Regions from separate parts of the Homo sapiens genome. Here region 1 is linked to region 2. The links are contacts of gene promoters, found by promoter capture Hi-C in human tissues and cell types (Jung and others, 2019). All regions are on one chromosome and are shown on one strand. The core of a region is centred on a gene start or on the middle of the fragment in contact, and the rest is flanking DNA. Distances in the headings are between cores, read along the strand shown.

What was found. Contacts are between HindIII fragments. The study calls those that stand out against the background at their distance.
Region 1: a contact is called between a fragment that was not itself captured here and the fragment with the promoter of STX2 in region 2, in 1 of the 25 tissues and cell types used here (liver).

What each region holds. Positions count from the first base shown.
Region 1 is chr12:131,453,405-131,459,583 of GRCh38, forward strand. It overlaps a transcript of LOC101929974 not described here. Among named protein-coding and RNA genes, the nearest start is that of LINC02370, 110 kb to the left of the region's middle. RefSeq lists an enhancer at 1,268-1,773 and a silencer at 1,350-1,399. The HindIII fragment of the contact is 5,120 bases long and covers 1,701-6,179 here.
Region 2 is chr12:130,837,022-130,843,190 of GRCh38, forward strand. STX2 (syntaxin 2) reads right to left here and starts at 2,229. Exons shown (of 11, transcript NM_194356.4): 1 at 2,049-2,229. The coding sequence starts at 2,078. RefSeq lists silencers at 1,793-1,852, 1,923-2,432. The HindIII fragment of the contact is 30,414 bases long and covers 1-6,169 here.

The sequences.
Region 1 (6,179 bases), core at 3,011-5,510, 620 kb after region 2:
CTCTGTTCAGGCTCTTTATATACCTAAAGTCTTATGCCTAATTTCAAAGGAGTTTACACTCTATGAGAGTATTATTGAACACTTAATAAGAGTCAGGCAAATGCTTTACATGATTTATCTCGTTTAATCCTCACAACCATCCATTGTCACTAGGTAGGCCATACTGTCTTCCCTATACTATAAGTGAAGAAATTGAGGCCTTGGCAAGATTATGCACACTGGGCAATATCTCACAGCCAGTATATGTGGAGTCTAAATTTGAATCCAGGTGGTCTGAATCTAGAAGCTATATTCATGAACAATTTAACCTTTTATAATATAAATGTAAATGGACTTGCTTGAAGACAGAAAGTATTAACAGGAGTATATGATGCCTAGAGTCTAGGAATAGAACCAGAAACTCATGGTGAAGGGGTTAAGAGCATGAGCTTTGGGGACAGGAGGTAGCCCTTGGTTTCATTTCCAACCAATCCTTATTACCTCTGTAATTATATACAAGTTCCTGAAGACCTCTCAGAACTTTTGTTTCTTCATCTGCAAAAGAAGGTCATTGTGATGATGTATTTTATGTAAAACACATAGCACAGAATATAACACATAGTAAGTCCTTAATAAATATTAAGCAAAAGAGGGAAAGATATTCTAACTTTATCCATAACTATCTCTGAATGTTTATAAACAGAGTCCCTAGGGAAATACAAGTGCTGCCTGAATATCTGTGTTTAAGTGTAAACCCATCTAAATAAAATCAATTAAACTGGAAGCAATATTTCATAAGGAAAAGACTAGAGGTTACAGCTCTTAGCCTGCCTGCTATTAACCATCTTTGGGATCTTACTTAATATAGGACTTCATCATCACGATGCAGTTTAAGAGACTGCTTCCTGAACTGTCTATTCCAGACTTATGCTGTGTCCTGGGGAGGTAAGAGGGCTTATACATTGCCCCTGCCCCAACTTCACTAGATCAAGATTTTTCTCACTGATGAAATGCATAGGTGGAAGGTGAGAAAGGTTTTACTAAGCTGATTTAAATTATTTTGATTTTAAAATTAAAATTATTGTGATTTTTATCATTTAATTATTTTGCCAGATGCATCTATTGGGTATTAATGTAATGAATCACAGTTAAAAGTTTTCCCAATTATCAAAAATAAATAAATAAATAAATAAATAAATAAATAAATAAATAAATAAAACAAAGAGCATTTGCAGTGAGAATGGGCTGCAGTAGGGTGAGCACTGATGGGAATTGAAGTCCACAAGCTGGCAGGTGGGGCCCTCGTCCCCGGGGCACATGGCATAGGGAAGCAGGAGAGGCGCCCAGGCCTTGTGGGCCTGAGGTTTATGTGACTGGGAGGGTGTTCCTGGGGAAGACACTACAAAATCACACAGAGTTGCAAGGGACCCTCTCACACTCTGCAGAGGCCCATGTGACACGGCAGGGACAGGAACTGCAAGCAGCTCCACTGCAGGAGCACCTGCCCCCCTTGTGGCCATGCAGGGCATACACAGCCCGGCCATGCAGCAGCTCCCAGCCACTCCTCACATGCCCACAGCAACTATCGCCTAAGGAAGAGACGTCTCCCGACCACAGTCACCAGGCCACACGCTCCCTCCAATGGCTCCCTTCCTTTCTGGGTCAAAGCCTGACACTCCCTGGCTCCTGCCCCCACCCCTGCCTCAACATCTGTGCCCAGCCCCACAGCTCCATCTGCTCCTTAAACCCCCGAGCTCCTTACCTGGACATCAATGTGGTGGGGAAGGCCAGCGAGGAGCCTTAGAGGACGTGACTTTTAAGCAGAATCCTTAAGAAAGAGTGGAACGTGGCCAGGTAGAAATCTGACGGAAGTGTCCAGCAAAGGCAGGCCCGAGTCCCAGGATCCCCGACGGTTAGGAGCTTGGTTGGCTGAGGACAGGTGTGGGCAGCTCCTGCTGAGGCAGGAGAGGTAGGCAGCGCCAGGCAGTCAGGGCCTATTAGGACGAGGACTCACCCAGCCTGAGGAGACTCTGAGGAAACGCGTGATGCAGACAGACTTAAAACTGTAAGAGGCCCCATGGCTGCTCTGGACAGGGAGGGTTGGCGGGACAAAGGCAGGTGGAGGCGCCACGGAGTCTGTTCATGGGGGTTCAGGAGAGAGTGATGAGGGTGGGCTGGCACCGAGGGGGCTCCTCCAAGGGAGGGTTATGAGAAATTCCCTTGGGGCCAAAGGGGATTGACATGTGGTCATGGGAAGGGCAGCCCGGAGACTCCCTCCTGAATAGTCACCAAGGTCCAGTTCCCTTGTGCATGGCGGAACCCAGGCCTGTGGGCGGCTCTTCCACCCCATGGGGTGGGGGCACAGGACAGGGAGGAAGCACTTTGGGGACCCCTCAGAGCCCCGGTTCAGCGAACCTCAGGAGCCCGCGCAACCCACAGCCCATTCTGGAAATGGTGGTATCCCACCCAGGGGCCCAGTGGGGAGGGGAGGTGGGCCAGGCTTTCCACTGTGCTCTCCTTGTCATCTGCAGCTGAGACTCCAGCCCAGCTCACTCCTGTGTCTTCTCGTCCTAATCTCTGACATGAGTACAGTAGGACTCACCCGACAGCAGGTGCTCTCAGATCCCTGCCCATTTCTGGCCAAAAGAGCCTTCAGGACAGCCCGGCAGTGCCAGGAATCGGGAAGCTCATGGGGACCGCAAGGTCTGGAGATGGGAGGGCAGGGGAATGTGTGTGTGTATGTGTGTCTGTGTGTCTGTGTACGTGTGTGTGTGTGTCTGTGTATGTATGTGTGTGCATATGTATGTGTATGTGTGTGTATATGTGTGTGTGTGTGTCCTTCCTGGAGCTTCTTAGTGTACCTGCAAATGCCTCCAAGAGCAACCCACGTGCCTGTCCTGGGCCTGTGGCCCTGATGCCCTTTCATCCATGCCCCGCCCTTCCTGATCTGCTGGGAATTTGTGGGGGTTGGGGGCTGATCTGCTGCGAATTTGTAGAGTTGGGCTTCCCACACCCCTGGTCAGCTAGCCTCAGGCTGAGCTCAGACAGTGAGAGGCCCTGGTGGGTGATGGGGGGCGGGGAGGAGCCAGGCTATTCCCCATCCTTCTCTGCCTCAAGCGCCTCGGGCAGCTGCCTGTCTTCCCTGCCAGCTCCACGTCTCAGGGGTCCTGGGGCCACCACACACTGCGTGATTAGAGAGTGGACTCCATGGCTTATTACAGAGAAAGGCCACGTAGCAAGATCAGCAGGGGAGAAAGACCCAGGGGAGTCCACCAAACACGCGTCTTGCTCCAGCAACCAAGTCAGCAACACATCCAGAGTGTCGCTTCCCAGGGAGGCCGTGTAGGTCTCCGAGTGCGGGGCTTCTACAGGGGGCTGGTCACATAGGCACCCTCTGCCTGTGCAGCCACTGTGGTGACAGAAGTCAGGCGTGCGCTGATCACACTGCAGAGTCCAGGCAGCTGGTAGGGAACGGCTTAGTTCCCTGAGTGCACAAACGACCTGGTCAACCAGTCACTCAGGAAACGTTCCAAAAGCCAAGTTCCCGGATGCTGGCTGGGGATCACCCGGATGCTGGCTGGGGATTACCCGGATGCTGGCTGGGGATCACCCGGATGCTGGCTGGGGATCACCCGGATGCTGGCTGGGGCTCATCGCTGCACACGGGCCTCCATGAACACGCGTCAGAATCAGGCAGCCTCCGGCCTGCTGCGCACGTCGTTCCTGCACACCGAGGCTGCTGTGGGTCCAGCTTCCCCAGAGACCCCAGCCCTGGGCTCCGCCAGCACCACCCACCCCGCTCCAGCCCAGGGATGGAGCCGCCGCCTTCTCTCCTGGCCTCTGAGTTGCCTCCCAGCCCCCATCTGACTTCTCAGCTCTCCCGTCCCCTCCGTAACCCACTCCCTGCCTCAGTCTCCTGTGTGGTAAATACACGAGTTCTCCAGTGAGGCCCCAACTGCTGCATCCTTGGATTAATTTAAGGATCCAAGGACAGAGGCCAGAGAAGCCTGCATGGACCTGGGTATCAGACGCAGAAGTAATGGAGCATTAGTCACCTTAGTCACCACGTTCTCAGTCAGCGAGGTCAGGTGCACGTCCAGACCTGATGGACGCTCCTTCACAGGGACCTCCGGTGCGCAAACAGGACTCCATGGAGAGCAGCTCGGGGGCAAGGACAGGCTTCTCTAAAGCATGGTGAGGCACCACTGTCACTGAGGATGCACGGTCCTCTCCTTGCCCTGGAAGCAGAGAACGGGAATGTGCAGCCACAGTGAGTGTGCGACCAACCCCAGGCCAGCTCAGTCCCCTTACTTAAGTCCCTGAACAGCGGAGCCCTGACTGCCTCCAGCCAGGTTCTCCATCCACAGCCCCAGTATTTGGGTCTTGGAGCAGTGCTGACAGCCAAGATGGTGAGGGGGTAGCAGGAAGCTAGATGCGGAGCAGGCATTTCCCAGCCTGGCAGAACCATGGAGAGACCCCCCCCCGGCCCCCACCGCCGCCACCAAGGGCAAAGTCAGAGCAGGACACAGTGGGTCGGGGTGGGGTTCCCAGGGTCCTGACCCTGAGGCAGCAGGACCCCAGGCACAGGCAGGACCCCACCTCCCCCCCTCCACCTGTAGGCTCCTCCTTTCTCCAGACGCCCCTCAGCAAGGAAGAGCGGACCCAGACCGGTGGGTGCTATTTGCTCCAGACTCCCCAGCGCCTATGCGGCTGAACCCTAAGGATTCCCACGCGGCTCCAGAGGGACGTTTCCAAACACACGCCCAAGTCCTCCAGAAGGTGACTTGAAGATAAAAGTCCTAAATGAATGCAGAGCAGTTTCAACACATGAGTTCACATACATGCTCCCAACTGTTTCTAAATGTTAGGGGAAATCCCAACCTTTGTCTTTGAAAAACACCAGAGTGTCTTGTTTGTGATTTTAAAACACTCAAAGACAAATTGCCAGTTTGCCGTGTGTATTTCAAATCTACTTTCCGTTTATTTAATTTCTTGGCTTCTTTAACTTGAAGCTTCCCACCAGGGCTCCAAACCTCTTTCTTACTATCGAACAGTGTGACTACCCAGGCTGCTGAAGGCACCGCTTGTCATCTATCTAGAAATTACCTTCTCTGCATGTTGCCTGGAACTGTGGAGGGTTCACCATTATAAATTATAGTTCAAATTACAAAACAGGGCCCCTATTGATGATTTCAGGTTCTAAGTGTGTAATTATGGTGCTTTTGCTAATGACATAATGAAGAGAGGTGATTATGTCATTAAAATGTGATGTTTTTTATATCCCGAAGAAGCTGCCTATGTGTCGTAATGAACGTCCTGGGTATGGGGTCAGAGTGGGCTCTCCCTCGAGGACCCTGAGGCCGTCCTACAGGGAAGAGTGGGGTTTTGTCCAGTGAAGTATTTGCTAGTCACAGGCTGCGCTGCTTAGTCCTGAGAACGAGACACTTTCAGAGTTAATGCCACAAATATTGTTCTTCGGCTCAGTAATGTTAGGACGAAACAAACCCTTGTTATTCTAATTGTTTGAATTATCCAGTTGAGATCCTGGGCAGTCTTGTCCTGTTTAATGACTGACAATTAGGCTTCAATGGCGTTCACGTTGACGGGTGCTGGATCGCCCGGCTTGGGGCGTCTCACGTGGCTTCAGCCCTGCCCTCCCTGCGGATCTGGCTCTGGTACCCACCGCGCTGAAGGAGGGAGCGTGGGAACACGTGAGCCTCTCTGCACAGGGAGGTCCCAGGACTGACACCGACACGGAATCTCCTCACCTTCCACGGGTCCCTCGGGTCCCCAAATCCAAACTCACGCCGGGAAGTACCTCAACGCACTTCCGCCCTGGCCCAGGCTGGACAAAGCCCAGGTGCTGCTGAGCTGGAAACTCGCTCTTCAATGAGGTTCATCTTTTTCCGCGCCAATGACATCTTTATGGGGGAGGCATTCAGTTATGCGCCCGAGGCTCAGCACCTCATGTGCAGTTGTGGGTCTGAGTCCTGGATAGAAGCTGGTGGAGGGTCTGGGGGTTTTGTTCACCCCACACTGAAGGGCCCCGAGCACCTTCTCACCCACCCACCCACGGGGGTGTCATGAGTCCAGCCACAGGCCTGCCTGTGACTCCCAACAGTTTCAGAAGGAAATGAAATTTCAGGAGATTCAAGCAGTGATGGTGGGTGTATTCCACATTTCCTCCTTTTTTAACACAA
Region 2 (6,169 bases), core at 979-3,478:
CGTACTTTCTCACGATTCCCCAACATATAAATTTGGCTGTATTTTGCCAAAATAGTCACAGCTCTCACGTTCAATGACATTGAGCTTTTTTTTTTTTTTTTTATGAGACAATGTCTCACTCTGTCACCCAGGCGGGAGTGCAGTGGCATGGCACAATCATGGCTCACTGCAGCCTCTATCTCCTGGGCTCAAGGAATCCTCCTAGCTTAGCCTCCTGAGTACCAAGGACTACAGGTGCGAGTCACACCTGGATAGTTTTTTTGTGCGTGCTTTGTTTTGTTGGTTTTTCTGAAACAGAGTCTCTTTCTGTTGCCCAGACTGGAGTACAGTGGCACAATCTCGGCTTTCTGCAACCTCCGCCTCCTGGATTCAAGCGATGCTCCTGCCGCAGCCTCCAGAGTAGCTGGGACTACAGGTGTGCGCCATGACATCCGGCTATTTTAGTAGAAACGGGGTTTTGCCATGTTGGCCAGGCTAGTCTCCAACTCCTGACCTCAAGTGGTCCACCCAACTCGGCCTCCCAAAGTGCTGGGATTACAGGCATGAGCCACTGCGACTGGCCTCCTGCTAATTTTTTAATTTTTTTCGAGAAACAGTGTCTCCCTGTGTTGCCCAAGCTGGTCTCCAATACCTGGGCTCAAGTGATGCCCCCACCCTGATCTCCCAGACTGCTGGGATTACAGGAGTGAGCCACAGCTTTTCTTCATTAAATAAATACCTGAGCTCCTACTACACGGCACTGAAAGATAATCCATCGGGCAAGACAACACAACTATAATTTGCTGTGTTTAAGATGATATTGATCTGCGGAACACAGGGAATATTTGTCCATTAATAAAAAAGGAAAAATCACCGTGAAGAAACTTCCTTGGAATGAATATAAAGCATAATTTCCATGATCCTAAGGATGAAATCATTGCCTTTCTCAACCAGAGCTCCTCATCTGAACCACAGAACACAGATAATGATTTAAGTGGCTCTTTTCTCTATTCTCCCACTCGGGGGTACATAACAGCTCCATTCTAGCAGCAGAGGAGAGAGAATAATTCATTACATGCAGTGGGTGTCGTAGGGCTGTGGGCCTTAGCACCCCTGTTCTGAGGCTGCCAACAATTTAGAGACCAGAGGCTCTATCTGTGCACACACGTAGCATGAATTAGTACCTGTATTGTAAAGGGAAAAAGTCATAACTACTTCTGCTGGCCTAAGCCGTCCTGGGTTAGACAAGCTTGGAAAGTGCACGACCATCACTATCATTCCGCTGTCACTGCACCATGCACAGTCCTGTCACCTTTACACGTGTAGAATGCATCGAAATCCTTCCAAAATTTTTAGTGACCTGCTTTTCCCTTGCTAAAGTAAACAGTAACTTGCTGTGTGCCCGGCTGCTGGGCGCGTAAGGTGCGTTCAGAGTCAACACACGGTCCCAGTTTCCAAAGCAAACTACTGGGAGATCAGACACAAGCTGCTGTTCGCGCTCGCCCCACCCCAAGCACCCAGCACTCTAAGGTGCCCACATTTCACACCCATCTGTTGCCTCCCGCTTGGTGCACAGTCCTTTGTGAAGCCCCAGGGATAAAGCAGCGACCAAGAGGACCCGGCCTGCTCCCCGGGGCTGACGCCAGCTGCGGGGACCCCGTGGGGCGGACCACAGTTAGGCCAGTGGGCTCCGGCTGGGTAAGCGCCAGATACAATCCGCCAAGCGGAGTGACGGACAGGGAGCCACGCTCGAAGAGGGGGTCGAGGCCGGGACCTTCCCCGCTCCCTCCTCCTGCCCCAACCCGCCCTGAGGACTCCGCCCAGGAAGCCCTGGGGACCCCGCCCGGAGCCCCCACCCTAGGACTCCCGGGACCCCCGCCCTGGGGACCCCACCAGCAGTCCCCGCTCAGGACTCCCTGAGACCCTGCCCGCAGCCCCCGCCCCAGAACGCCGGAGATCCCCGCCCTGGGGACCCTCCCGGAGCCCCGCCCAAGACGCCCCGAGCCCCCGCCCGCCCTCCAGACGCCGCCCCGGCCGGGCCTGAACCGCTACCCGCGGCTGCCGCTCACCGCCGTCAGGTCTGGCAGCCGGTCCCGCATCCCCGCCGGCCGGGCAGCGCGCCCCGCCGCTCAAGCCTGTCCCGAGCTGCCTCCGGCCGGGCCTCGGGCTCTCCGGTCTCCGCCTCAGGCCCCGCGGTCCCGGCCCGGCGCCAGCAGCCCTCCCTGGAGCCGGCGCTGCCACGGCAACCGCGCCCCGCGCGCTCTGCGCATGCCCGGCCCGCGCCGCGCCCCGCACCCACCCACACGGCGGCAGCGCTTTCCAGCGGGAGCCCGGAGGGGCGGGGCCTGGGGGCGGGGCCTAGGCGGGGAGGGGCGGGGTCCGGCCGAGCCCCAGGCTGGCAGTTCCGCTACACGTGCTGTTTGTCCCTTGATCTGCTTTTATGCTTTCACACTCATTGTTTTATTTATCAAAATATAGAGCATTCAACGAATAGTGACAAAAGAGCAAAGCTCCCGGAATGTGCTGGGTGCAGCTTTGGGTAATACATATGCCGAACCTTCTCTTTAAGGGTCCACGCGCAGCCTCGGGTGTGAATGAAGGAGAAGAGATCGTGTACCACACATGATGCTTACGGAGCATAACACGGCAGGGGGCGGTAACGGGAAGAGCGTCCGCAGGCCCAGCCCTGGGATACCATTCTGGCAGGAGAAACAGGCAATACAGACACAGACAAATAAATGATAGATGAGAAAAGAAAGTAAGGGCATGGGCACGGAACTGGCAGAGAGGTCGTCATGAAGGTGCAGGAGCTTAGGTGAACTACCCAGGTTGGGGGAACAGTCCCCAAGACCATTATCACCTCTGACACCAACGGCAAATTCTGGCGGTTTCCAAAACCACCTTCAAGTTCCATAATTTGCTAGAAGGAATCACAGAATACACTAAAAACTACTGTACTCACAACTATGGTTTCTTAGCAGGAAAATGATACGGATTAACATCAGCCAAGGAAGAAGGGCAGAGGGGGAGTCTGGGGATTACGGCGTGCAGCTTCAAGGTCCTCCCGTGGTCCTCTCCCTGTGTAGTCAGGCCTCATTACTTGCCCTGCACTGATGTGTGGCCTTACACACGAAGTACTGCCAGCCAGGGAAGCTCACTTGAGCCACAGTGTGCAGAACGTTTACTGGGCTCCATTGCATGTGCATGATTGATTGATTGTTTGATTGCTTTCATGCTTGATCTCAGCCTCTTGGTTAAGTGATATCCATGTAACCCTAAGCCCCCACCATAAATCACACTGTTACTCTCTGGCTAGCCGAAGACTCCCAGGCAAACAAAGATTGCCTTCCAGGAGGAGAAGGCAAGGCCAGATTTGTTTTTAAACAAGGTTAAAGTCTTTACTGCCTCCTGGAGGAGGTGGCTTTGGTCTGACCAGAAGGCAGCGCTAAGAAATCTGCTTGAGAGCAACAGGCTACACATTAAAAAACAGGACGTTTTGGACTTGGTTCTAGGTGTGATGTGGTTCTGTTACCCGATGGAAGGTCTTGACAGCCAGTTGTCCAGGTGAGTGTGGTGGCGGGCACCTGTAATCCCAGCTACTCAGGAGGCTGATGCATGAGAATTGCTTGAACCCGGGAGGTGGAGCTTGCAGTGAGCCAAGATCGCACCACTGCACTCCAGCCTGGACAGTAAAGCGAGACTCCGTCTCCAAAAAAAAAAAAAAGATATGTTTTTTCTCTCCATATCCTGAACTTCCCCACCAGAATGCCTCCTGGACCCCGCAACAGGCAAGTGCTTTTCTTTCGGCCTTCTTGCCTCTGCCACCACCATTTTAATTCTCCCTCTCTGGTAAATACTGGGCCCTCCCTCGTTTCTCCCTCTCTCCCAGTGGATTTTTCAAAAACATATGATAATATTGGCAGCAGCTGGATGGTGTTGAATTGGCAACCAAAACTTTTTGTTTGTTTGTTTGTTTGTTTGAGACAGAGTCTTATTCTGTCTCCCAGACTGGAGTGCAGTGGCATGGTCATAGTCCACTGCCGCCTTGAACTCCTGGGCTCAAGTAATCCTCCCACCTCAGCCTCCAAAAGCACAGGGACCACAGACATGAGCCCACCATGCCCAACCTCAAAACTTTCCTTATCCTGCCAGAGAAAAAAAATGAAGTTGTGAATAATCGTTGTGGGAATTCAGGGACCCTGAATGGAGGGACCGGCTGAAGCCATGGAAGAAGAACATAAATTATGAAGATTTCATGGACATTTATTAGTTCCCCAAATTAATACTTTTATAATTTCTTATGCCTGTCTTTACTGTAATCTCTGAACATAAATTGTGAAGATTTCATGGACACTTATCACTTCCCCAGTCAATACCCTTGTGATTTCCTAGGCCTGTCTTTACTTTAATCTCTTAATCCCATCATCTTCGTAAGCTGAGGAGGATGTATGTCGCCTCAGGACCCTGTGATGATTTTGTTAACTGCACAAATTGTTTGTAGAGCATGTGTGTTTGAACAATATGAAATCTGGGCACCTAGAAAAAAGAACAGGATAACAGCAATGTTCAGGGAACAAGAGAGATAACCTTAAACTCTGACTGCCGGTGAGCCAGGCGGAACAGAGCCGTATTTCTCTTCTTTCAAAAGCAAATGGGAGAAATATTGCTGAATTCTTTTTCTCAGCAAGGAACATCCCTGAGAAAGAGAAAGCATCCCTGAGGGTAGGCCTCTGAAATGGCCGCTTTGGGGGTGGCTGGGCATGGTGGCATGTGCCTGTAGACTACTCAGGAGGCTGAGGCAGGAGGATTGCTTGAGCCCAGGAGGTTAAGGCTGAAGTGAGCTGTGACTGTGCCACTGCACTCCAGCCTGGGCAACAGAGTGAGACCCTGTCTAAAAAAATATATATATACACATACACACATGCACTATAAATATATAGTATATACATACTATACACACACATATAGTGTATACATGCTATATACACACATATAGTACATACAAGCTATATGTATATACAGATCGCAGCTGTAGGGATGAAATAAGCCCCAGTCTCCTGTAGCCCTCCCAGGCTTATTAGGACGAGGAAATTCCCGCCTAATAAATTTTGGTCAGACCAGTTGTCTGCTCTCAAACCCTGTTTCCTGATAAGATGTTATCAATGACAGTGCCTGCCCGAAACTTCATTAGCAATTCTAATTTCTCCCCGGTCCTGTGGTCCTGTGATCTCGCCCTGCCTCCATTTACCTTGTGATATTCTATTACCTTGTGAAGCATGTGATCTCTGTGACCCACACCCTATTTGTACACTCCCTCCCCTTTTGAAAATCGCTTATAAAAACTTGCTAGTTTTATGGCTCAGGGGGCATCACGGAACCTGCCGACATGTGATGTCTCCCCCAGACACCCAGCTTTAAAATTTCTCTCTTTTGTACTCTGTCCCTTTATTTCTCAGACCGGCCAACACTTAGGGGAAATAGAAAATAACCTACGTGAAATATTGGGGATGAATTTTGCCCAATATCTGGCTGAATTTCCCCTGATAAATAATAATGTGTAATTTATCATTTTTGTTCATATTACATACATACATATGCAGTCAAGGTGTTTTTGGGGTCAAAACATCAACCAGATCACAACAGTGCGTTCAAAACACCATCATAACAGCCAAACACTAAAATTGAATGAAATCTACATGGAGGCTGAGGTGGGAGGATTGCTTGAGCCCAGGAGTTGGAGGCTGCAGTAAGCTGTGATCATGCAACTGCTCTCCAGCCGGGTCCACAGAGCAAGACCCTGTTTCTAAAAAATAAATAAATAAATAAATAAATGTTTAAAAAACTTAAAGAAGAAAACGCGAAAGAGGCAGAGGAAGAGGAAGAAGGAAAAAAGAGAGGAAGAAGGAAAAAAGAAGGAAGAAAGAAAAAAGGAAGGAAGGAGAAAAAAGGAAAAAGAAAGGAAGGAAGGAAGGAGAAAGGAAATATGGAAGAAAGAAAGAAAGAAGAAGGAAGGAAGGAAGGAAGGAAGAAAGAAAGAAAGAAAGAAAGAAAGAAAGAAAGAAAGAAAGAAAGAAAGAAAGAAAGAAAGAAAAGAGAAACAAAGGGCTAAGTTACATTCCCGAGAAAATCTGACTGGAGCCTGGGCAACATAGCAAAACACTGTCTCTGCAAAAAATTTTTAAAAATTAGC